Regions from separate parts of the Homo sapiens genome. Here region 2 is linked to region 1. Evidence: promoter capture Hi-C in human tissues and cell types (Jung and others, 2019). All regions are on one chromosome and are shown on one strand. The core of a region is centred on a gene start or on the middle of the fragment in contact, and the rest is flanking DNA. Distances in the headings are between cores, read along the strand shown.

The links. Contacts are between HindIII fragments. The study calls those that stand out against the background at their distance.
Region 2: a contact is called between a fragment that was not itself captured here and the fragment with the promoter of FOXB2 in region 1, in 1 of the 25 tissues and cell types used here (IMR-90 fibroblasts).

The regions. Positions count from the first base shown.
Region 1 is chr9:77,016,361-77,021,703 of GRCh38, reverse strand. It overlaps FOXB2 (forkhead box B2), which reads right to left and starts at 2,049. Exons shown (of 1, transcript NM_001013735.1): 1 at 751-2,049. The coding sequence starts at 2,049. The coding sequence ends at 751. The HindIII fragment of the contact is 6,747 bases long and covers 1-5,283 here.
Region 2 is chr9:75,571,645-75,576,987 of GRCh38, reverse strand. No RefSeq gene overlaps it. Among named protein-coding and RNA genes, the nearest start is that of PCSK5, 320 kb to the left of the region's middle. The HindIII fragment of the contact is 6,061 bases long and covers 1-5,137 here.

The DNA.
Region 1 (5,343 bases), core at 800-3,299:
AATTGCTCTAGAGGTTCCTCCTATCCTTCTTGACCCCCAGGTCAGAGCCAAGAACCTTAGCTGTTTCCCAAAGATATTTCGTGGGGTTCCCGCTGCCTCCTCTCCTCCCCTTCCCCCTCCAAAGCGACTTTATTCATGACACCGTTTCCTTGCCCATTTAGCTGACTAGGAAAATAACGGTATCAAACGCTTCCTCTTTTCCTTCTTAAATAAAACGAAATTTCCTTAGTGGACGGCAGTTTTGTCTTGAATGTTCACGAGAGGCGACCGCCGAGGATGCGACCAGCAGAGAGAAACGTGGTGGCTGAGATCCGTTTCAGCGTCACTCTCTGTTGGATTCTTCGCGGGAGGTTTAGCTCTGCCAGCTTCTGCTCCCAGGAATAAGGGTCAGAATCGACTTCCAATTTACCAGCGAATGAGGCTTTCCTAACCTCCTTCGTTCCCTCCCCCCATAACTTATGGATTTATATTAATTACAATAGAAACTCTTACCTGAAAATTGGCTTTCATTAATCTGATTGTACAACATAGTATAAACACAGACACCAGGAAGGTTATATTTATTCAGACCACTGGAGAATCCACTTTTCGGGGTTGTTCGTCTATTTAAATACCTTCCGTTCCAGCAAAGGCTGAGACTCGCCAGCTCTGCCCGGCCTGACCAGGGCGCCCTCTCCCCGTCGGGTGGTTTGGGCGGTTCCGGGCCCGGCGTCTCTCACCCCGCTGGTCTCCCCACGCCCGCCGGGTCCCCTAGGAGTGCACTAGCACCGAGTGCAAGGAGCCGCCCTTGCTTTCGGCCGAGGTAGGGGCTGTGGGCTCCAGCAGAGAGGCAACGGGCGAGGCCGCGGCCGCGGAGCACACGGTGGATGGCGCCGGAGGCTGCTGCGAAGCCGCGGGGACAGTGAGCCCCGGCTGCAGCGCGGACACGGGCGGCAGCGCAGGCGTGGGCTTGATGGGCACCGGCATGGCAGGCAGGCTCTGGCTTGCCGAGTGGCACAGGGACTTGACCGGGACCCCGAAGGCCCCATACTCCGGGCCTACAGGGACTCCGGCTGCGGCTGCGGCGGCCGCGGCGGCGGCCACCGAATCCATGACGCCAACGTGCGGCCACACGGAGCTGACGACGTTGCCAAGCTGGCCGGGCACGGGGTAGCCCAGGTGGTGCATGACGGACGCCAAGGGCAGCCCTCCAGCCTGCAGCACGCCCTTGTAGTCCCGGCCAATAATGTTCTCAATGGCAAAGGGGTGCTTGAAGCCTGACGTGGACGCCGCGGCCGCGGCGGCAGCGGCGGCGGCCGAGCCCAGCCCGTAGGGTGGGAACTGAGACAGGCGTCCCACGCTGCCCACCGCGGCTGCCGCGGCCGCCGCCGCCGCCGCCGCCACGGCCGCCGCCTCCTGCATCTTGCCGGGGTGAGACGGCTGCTGAGGCTGCGACTGCTGGGGCGGTTGCTGCGGGGGCTGTGACGGGAGGTGCGGAGGCGGCTGCGGAGCAGTAGGCGGTTGCTGATGGAAATAGTGTACCATGTGCGGCGGCGGCGGGGGCGGCGGCGGCGGCGGCTGGGGTGGGTGGTGGTGATGGTGGTGGTGTGCGGCAGCGTGGTGATGATGGTGGTGGTGGGGGTGGTGGTGGTGATGGGGGTGAAGGTGCCCTCCCGGACCGGCGCCCGGCGCGCTCTTGGTGCTTCCCGCGTGCAAGTGAGTATGGTCGGCGCGCAGCACCTTGAAGCGCTTGCGACGCCGCAGGAAGCTGCCGTTCTCGAACATGTCCCCGCAGTCGGGGTGCAGCGCCCAGAAGCTACCCTTGCCAGGCTGGTCGGGCCTCCGCGGAATCTTGATGAAGCAGTCGTTGAAGGAGAGGTTGTGGCGCAGGCTGTTCTGCCAGCGCTGTGTGTGCTCGCGGTAGTAGGGGAAGCGCTCCATGATGAACTTGTAGATGTCGCTCAGCGGCAGCATCTTCTCGGCCGAGTGCTGGATTGCCATGGCGGTCAGCGAGATGTAAGAGTAGGGCGGTTTTTGGTCGCTGTACGAGCTCTTCCCCGGCCGCGGCATCGCCCCCGGCTCCTCCACCGCCCTCCGGCCCGCACTGGACCACAGAATCTCTCCGCACTCCGTTCCTGGGGCCTGGCTGCCCCCACTAATTCCCACTCGGCCCCTCCAGTCCCGCCACTTTGCCCTCTCGCCCTCCAGGCCCTCTCTGCTTCTCTCTCCTGCCTTCTCCGAATTGCCTGGTGTCTCCGACCTTGGCCTTTCGGGCCTACTCAGCTCTCGGAAGCTGGCAACTTCTGGCCCCGACGGTTGCCGACTGGCGCGCACAGTCGCGGGCGGAGTGCACCAGGTTTACCGCCGCCTTCTCTGCGTCTTCCCCCGGGTGGCCAAAGACTGAGTGCTGGAGCTGGCTGCAGAGGAGAGTGGCAAGGGGCCGTGTTTCCTCCCGGCCTCTTTGCTTTTTCTAGGTCCGAGGGAAACCCAGACCAAGATGGCTGGGAGGAAGGTCTGGGCAGTAGAGACTCTGGCCCTTTAAATCTGAGTTTGCGCCTGCTGTCCTGGAGGCCAGTGACAGCAGGACTTCCAGTGCCCTGGACGCAGGCCCCTGGCCAGGCACTTAGCCAGACCGCGCTGGAGTTCTCCTTTTCCTGGAGTGAAAAATCAGGGTAAGGAGAGAGAAGATTGGCTTCTAGGGCGCCTCTCTTTTCTCCGAGGCTCGCAGCGTCGCCGGGGTTAGAAGAGACGCGCAGCCCTAGGCTGTCGCTGAGGAGAAAAAACTTTGGTGGTTTCTGAAGCGGCAGCGCCCGCAGGTTCTGCTGAGGAGTGTGGGGCGCAGGACTCTGGGAGCGAGCGGCGGGCTGGAGAGGGCGTCTGCGAATGCTGGGTGAGTGCTGGCCGGGGAGGCTCAGCCGTCCGCGCCGCAGCTGCCGCCTTTCTCCCGGGCTTGTCTTGAGGAGGAGAGGCGACGGCAGTGGCAGCGACGCGCTCTCCTGGCTGCGTTTTGTAATGGTCCCCGAGACGCCGAGACCCCCGCAGCTAGCGCTTCGAGACTATCACATGACCGAGGCTGAGGGACTCAGCCGCCGCCGCCGCGTCTGTAGCTGAAGAAGGGGCAAGAAGGCGCCGTGCCTCGCCCCCGCCCCCTTTTCCACCTCGTTTCGGGCGCTCTCCACCCATCGCGTTCACCACTCGCTCGGCAGCCCCCAGCCACCTCCCGGTGCGGCGGGTGGCGCAGGCTGTTCGCCGGGAGGGGGCACAGCTCCGGGTGCATTTCCCGCAGCTGCGCCCCACCCGGGCCACCAAGCACGGTGGAGGGGGAACAGGACACTGCCTTCTTGCTTCTCTTCTCTCTGGCATCTCCCTCTTCCGCCCCCTTCCTTTTACCCTTCCCTGTTTTCATCTACTCGCTGTGAGCTTCTCTCTCCTTACAAACCCTTTTTCCTGGGCTAGACACTCTGGGTCAAGTTCAGAGTATCGTGTCCTCAAGGCCTCTTCTCTGCAAGAAACCCCGATGATTAGAGGGCTGGAGGGAAAAACTCATGGGGAAGAAAGCATGGGGTGTTTTCACCAAATGCCAAATTCATCTCAGTTTTATTGCGCGCCAACTGCATGTGAGGCACCAGGTGCAGGGAGACAGGAGACAGTATCCGAGCTCCACCATCGCGGTATAGAGGGTGAGACGAACAGTAACCAAGAAATTAATAGAATAGGCACTAAAGGGCTTGGCGAATGGAGGCTCCACCACACTTTCCTGGAGCGAGTGAGTTGGACAAGATGAGGTTTCTCTGGGATGGCGATGTCTGAGCTGGGGCCAGAAGTAAGAGTTGGGGATTCAGGGGTCCCATCACCTGTGTGTGCTGGAAGGAAATCTTTGCTATTCTTAGCACGGTGGTGTGGGGCCAGGGCGAGGCAGGAGGTGGAATGGAAATAATTAAATAGGAAGCAAAAATTATCAGTCCACAGGATCCTGGTGTGATCTGCGAGGGAGAGGTGGATGAACCCAGGAGTGAGGTCCTTCTGCTTGGAGGTTCCTGCTCTGCACTCATCCAAACACCCAGCAGGAAACCCCAGTTTACTGCAGGGAGAACCTGAAGTTGTATACTCGTTTTGGCTACCTTTGCCCTTCAGCTGGGAGGAAAAGCAGAGTTTAGAAACAAGTATACTCTCCGTCTCTGGGACTGTTTCATTATTTGTAAAATAGGGTGGCTGAAGTTGGAAATTCACGGGTCCTTTCCCGTTAGGCGATTTGAGGAGAAAGGAGCATTTGGACACTATGGCTCCCTCGGTTTTCCCACGCCTAACCTGGAAGAAAGCCATCGGCCCAGCTGCTTGGGGGGCTGCCCCCTAACTAGCAACCTTGGTGACACCAGATCGGGTGTTTTCAGCTTCTGGCTTTTGGTGAGCTGGACGGTGGGAGCACGTCTGTCCGTGGGGTGGCTTAGCCAGGTCGCAGGAGTGCCGTGAGCGGGTCAGGCCCGTAATTTCCATCTTTAGTCAGGAGCTAGATTTCTGGCTAGCTCTATGTGGCCAGTTTGTCCTAGGCCAGAAGACGTCTGAGAATAGATGTTACGACTGAAGCTTGCAAGAAGGCCCGGGGAAAAGAGCAGCTTCTTGGTCCTAAGCCCTTTTCAAAGTAAGATGTTTTCTCTTTCACTGTATGTCGGAAGCTTTCCTCCTGCCATAGGAGTTTCTGCGCGATTTTTGTCCGCTGAGACACTTGAGAGAGCCGAGCAGCGGACAGCCTCTTGGCCTCGGGAAGCCACAGAATTCCAAGGACGCTCACAGTTTGACAAGAGCCTGCTGGAGCCAGGTGGCTCCTTTTCCTTGGAACAAGACCGTGAGACAACAGCCCTGTCCCAGCCCAGGAAGCTGGGGTCTCCTGCACCGCTGTCAGGCCGCTGCTGAGGAGCTCTGCGTGCCGCACACTTAAGGGCTCTCCGGACTTCGACCCCACACGCAGCTCGAGCAAAGGGATCTTTTGTTGATACCTCGGATAGCATCCCTTCCGCGGGTTGCTGGAACAGCAGAGTCTCCTTTTGGGGAGCAGCTCTGGGACCGTGCCCGTTGGGCACTTGCGGCTCCTGGGAACCGATCGAGGGGAGGGGCCCTTCAGGGACTCCCGGGACAAATCTTGGGCGCATAACGCGAACCCTGAGCACAAAAAATGAGCCAGGCCCTCACTGGGTGAGCTCGCTACAGCCCGCAGACCCGCCGCCACAACCTCAGGTTCAGCGCCAGGGGACGCCAGGGGCTTGGCCAGTGTCTTCGGCCTCGGCGAGCCAGGTTCCACGCAACCTGGGACAAAACAGTCTCGGAGGCTGAGCGAAGCGCCCCGAGCCTCACGCTTCCGCATTCAGG
Region 2 (5,343 bases), core at 858-3,357, 1.4 Mb after region 1:
GTCAATGGGTACAAAGTTTCAGTTAGACAAGAGGAACAAGTTCTGGTGTTTTATTGAACAGCAATGTAGCCATAGTTAATAATAATGTATTGTATGTTTCAAACTAGCTAAAAGGGATAATTTTAAATATTTTTATCACAAAGAAATGATAAATATTAGAAGCGATGAGTATGCTAATTAGCCTGACATGATCCTTTTACGGTTGATACATATATGTTTCAAAACATCACATTGTACCCCATAAATATATACAATTATTATTTGTCCATTAACACTCAAACTAAAAAATAAAAGAAAGGTTTTGACACACATGCCAAGAAATTACTGCACTTTTTAGAAGGTTAGATCTGTATGTGCTGCCGTAAATGACTGTCCATGACGTAGTGACATGTGAAAAATTATAATGAACACCTAAAGTTTTGTTTCACAAATCCATTCTTTCAGCTTCTGGTAATGGAAATGTGTTTTGCCTAGAATCCAGATCTCCCCTTTGTTAATGAAGGTGCCCTGGCCAAAAGGCAGACTCATCACCTGAGCTAAGCAAAGCTGACGCCTTCCTGGGAGTTTGAAAAGGGGAAGAACTGATGTATGCTTGTGTCAGAGCCCTAAAGATACTCCATGGTTTCCTGCTACTGCAAAGTCCAGAAGTGCTCTGATTCTTGTCCTCTCCAAAGATCCTTACCTCACTCTCCAACCTTCGCTTCAATTCTTCCTTAGGGAAGAAATATGCATTAGTGCCTCAATGGGCATTCCTTCATGTCCTCTACATGCAGATCTGATTCCTTACCATTTTTTCAAGTAAATAATTTTTCTAAGTCACCCAGAGTAGATTTCTGTTGCTTCCAAACAAAGAACCCTAAAGTACAGTGATAAAGTAACTAGCAATGTGTTTATTCTTATATGTATATTTTAATTCACTGACTTTATAAATTTTTATACTAAAATTTTCTTATTACATGTATTATTTTGGTAAGTAAAAAGCACTCGGCTGGGCGTGGTGGTTCATGCCTGTAATCCCAGCACTTTGGGAGGCCAAGGCAGGTGGATCACCTGAAGTCAGGAGGTCAACACCAGCGTGGCCAACATGGTGAAACCCCGTCTCTACTAATAATACAAAAAATTAGCCGGGCGTGGTGGCGGATGCCTGTAATCCCAGCTACTCAGAGGCTGAGGCAGGAGAATTGCTTGAACTCAGGAGGCAGAGGTTTCAGTAAGCCGAGATCACACCACTGCACTCCAGCCTGGGCAACAAGAGCGAAACTCCATCTCAAAAAAATAAATTAATTAATTAAAAGCACTCATAGATGAAAAAGAAATCTAGGTAGAAAGTAGTGTTCACTGAGATGAAATAAATCTGACTTGAATCCTCCTTGCAAACTCGGAGCCATTTTCACTGGAAGGTGGGGAGAGCAGCATTTATAGCCATCTTTCACAAGGCATGTGAGGGAAGGGGGCTTTCTACTGAAGGGGGAAGAATGGGAAGCTCAATGGCATTAGCTGCCATACAACCTGCATAAGACTGGCTTGAGAGTTCTACAAATTTTCCAGAAAGCTGACAATTCATTCTCAGAGAAAATCTTAATCTCTGGGGTTCTGCATTCTCACATGCTACCTCTGTTCTACACCATGTAATTCCAATGTAGAATGCATTTCTTTCTTCTTCAGTTTCCAGGGAAAAACAAACACATTAAACATGACTTGGGAACTTAGCAGTCTTTACTTGGATGGGTGGAGGTGGTCACAAAGATGGGTCATGTCATCTTGAGTCTTCCATCTGGCTGGCTCCTCTCTTCTCTTCCTCCTTCCTAACAGATTGTCCTCCTGAATGCCAAATGCTTCATCTTTTATGCAAAATTAATCTTCCTTTCCCTGTAATGTCTTTACTTCAGCCAGCCTAGGGTCCCATACATTTTCTCAAGTAAACCAGGATTTTCATGGTATTTTTTTAGACAAAAGAATTTGTCTGAAATTCCTTTTTCTCTTGCTAAAAGGAATTCTGATGCCACCTGTTAGGAATTCATTTTTCTCTGCCTCTCACATTCACATGTAATGGAAAAGGGAAGTAAGCTTTGTGGAGGGAATATATATATGTATATAAAATTTAGAGGGACTAAGCAAGAGGAGGAGACCTTGGGATTTTAGAAACAGAGAAAGGCTTATCAGAGCATTGCCTCAGCCAGAGAAATTTCATGACTGCATAGTCTTTTTGCTGATTCAGCAAATATTTATTGAGTGCTTATTATACGTAAAGAGGCAATCAGCTATGCACTGGGGAATTTAAAAATAAATAGGGCATGCTTTAAAGAGCAAAATGTCTAAAAGGAAAGATACACACATGAACTAATAGGCACAAGACAGTGCTACAATGAAGGACTAGATGAATTTAGAATAACTTGTGAACAGAAGCCCAGGCCTGTCCCAAATATTTGGGGCCTAGGCAAATTTACAAATGGAGGATCACGTACCATACGTCTAAATATTTAAAAGTTATAAATCAAGTGAATAGACTGCTAAATAAAATAGGTTCTACCCTTCTACCTTGACAAATAGAATTTCATAAAGCCTGAAAGGCCAGATCTGAGTTTAGAATCCTTGACACCTCAGAGTTGAGTCAGATCATGGCAGTGCAGATAGCTGGTTTGTGGATCCTAGCCTGAGGCCTTTGACAATCTTCCCTTCTTTTCCCACCCCCTATTCCTTTTCATACTTGTATGTATGTGGACACCCAGGCTGCGTGTACAAGTTCCAGCCATGGCCTCCACCAACAGCCACTTCTTAGTCACCACTCAGCCTAGGATATACCCACCAGTGGCGCCATCTTGTCCTTAGTAGCGATAATAGAGGTAACAGACCCACTCAGGCTCTAAAGGTAGGGTCAGACCATTTAGAAAGGGGATTCCAGGGTCTTAGATATCAAAGCATGGTCTAGAAGAGGGATACACCTCTGCTTGGGCCCACCTAGTTGGCTCCAGGGACTCTTCAGCCTATAATGTGAGCCACAGCCAGAACAGGGCAACAGCAAGGCCTTCTGGAGCACCATTACCTTCTTGCCTGGGTCAAAATCCAGTATTTCTTAAGCTGTTTCACCATATTTTTCTTGAGATCCTAAACTGCTTGTAGCTTTCTAGCTTCAGATGTACTGGTTTTGTGCAAGAGAGAATACGTATATTTATTTGGTTTTCAGCCCTCACCTGACGGATCCTTGAAGAGATGTTATTTCTGGACTTCCAAGCATTACAGTTCTATTTTCCAGTAATTCTATGGGCTAATAAGCTACCATCAGGGAAGGGAAGATAGGAAGAAATTCTTCTTTTTGGCTGCAAATCCCAATATAGAGTCTGAAGTATAACAGGGCCATCTTCAATGACAAAGGACAACATGTTTTCAAGCATTCCTTTCAACCAGACATTTTCCTATCCATTAGCTGTTTTCACTGACTGCTACGTGCAGGCCAGGCTTGATCTAGATCAGTTTTCATCAGGGTCACAAGGAAATAACACAGCTTAGGTTGAACCAAAGCAAGGTGACTCCTTCACTGTAGGTGTGTTCTATCTGCCCACCTGTCTATCTTGTCATTGTCTTAATTCCCAGTTTTGCTTGGCTTTCTTATTTTTCAAAAGTTTTTCTTTTTCTTTCCTCTCAGTATATAGCTCTTCCAGCTTCTCACCATTTCCATCAACTTCTGGCCACTTGCCGTGTTTTGTTTTCTAGTAATTGTGCCCTCCTGGCTTCTGTTGTCTCCCCAGCCTGATGTGTTACTGTCCTGACCCCTAAGTTGTATGTACTTTGTGATAACCTACACCAGTCTTAGCATCCTACTTAAATCCCTGACCTGCAACCACCCTCACATTGACTATCAGGGTGGAAGAAAACAACAGGTCATGCATTGGAACAAAATCTCCTTCTCCAGCCATGATTCCCCGAAATCGCAGTAGTAGGGATGAGATGATTTTCTGTCTAATTTATTTAGCTGTCTCTTTTCCAATAACTTTTCCTCCACTCAACCCCAGGAAACCCACCTGGACACCGTAATATTGTAGACATCAATATTATGTAAAAATGTTCTATCTTAAAATAATAAATCCAAGCATATTACCCATCAACCACAATGTTGCCTCTCTACTGATTGCTTTAAACTGTTTCCTCTTCGGTCTCATCAGAGCCTCTGGTCTACGGATCCGTGTGTGTTAAGCAATCTTTCAGCCTGTTCCTTTCTTTACTTTTCTCCTTATCCAACTTACAAGCTATAATCCGTCATTTCAAAATCACTCTTGTCCATACCCCAAACTTCTTTATGCCTTTGTATTTTATCACATCTAACCTGGGTCAATCCTGCAATAGGGCTTTCTCTCTAGTTAAACTTAAGAGTTTGATAATTGCTGGGGAGAAACAATTGCAGAGGAAATTGTTACCTCTATAAATCCATAATCCCTAACCTCAAGTGAGCCGTCAACTCTGCACATCAGTCCTACTAGTTTTTCCTGGCCAACTGGCTCTCTCATTTCTCCATTTTCCTCAAAACTGTGATGATGTCTGCTCAGCCTCTCCTACTATATACGGATAACCATTTTTGTTTCTTCATTCACAGGGAAAATGGAAGTGGTAAGAAAGAATTCCCTCAATTTTTAGTTACCAATTCTACAAACCTACTATGTTCTCAGGATAAAAACAAATGCACTGACCACAGCCTGCCTCTCACCCCACAACCCACAACCTTTGTGCTTCCATCACAATGGGCTTCTTCTAATTCCGCTAATGTCCCATCTGAAACCTTTATGTTGATAACAATCACTCAAGTTATTGGATAAATTAAAGAATCAAATCACTCAAGTTGTTTGATAACATTTCCAAGCCCACTGGATATACTTTCAGAGGAAGGCCCTCAAAACTGGTATACTTAACAAGAGCCTAAGGTCATTCTTACTTCAAGGAAAGACTGGGAAACTCACACCATGATTCCAAAACGCTGCTGATAGGCTGCTTGGAAACCTCTTCTTCCCTTTCTCTCCTTGTCTCCCTTCCCACCACACCAGATTCACTCTTACTCATCTTCCAACTTTCTACTGCAGCATCGCATCAGCAGGAAAGCTCTCTTCACATCACCCAGCACACCACCACTAGGTTTAGGAAGGTTTCTTTGACATGTGCTCTTTTTTATTTTATTTTATTTTTGAGATAGAGTCTCCCTCTGTTGCCCAGGCTGGAGTGCAGTGGTGTGATCTCGGCTCACTGCAACCTGTGCCTCCTGAGTTCAAGGGATTCTCTTGCCTCAGCCACCCAAGTAGCTGGGATTACAGGCATGCACCACCACACCCGGCTAATTTTTTGTATTTTTAGTAGAGA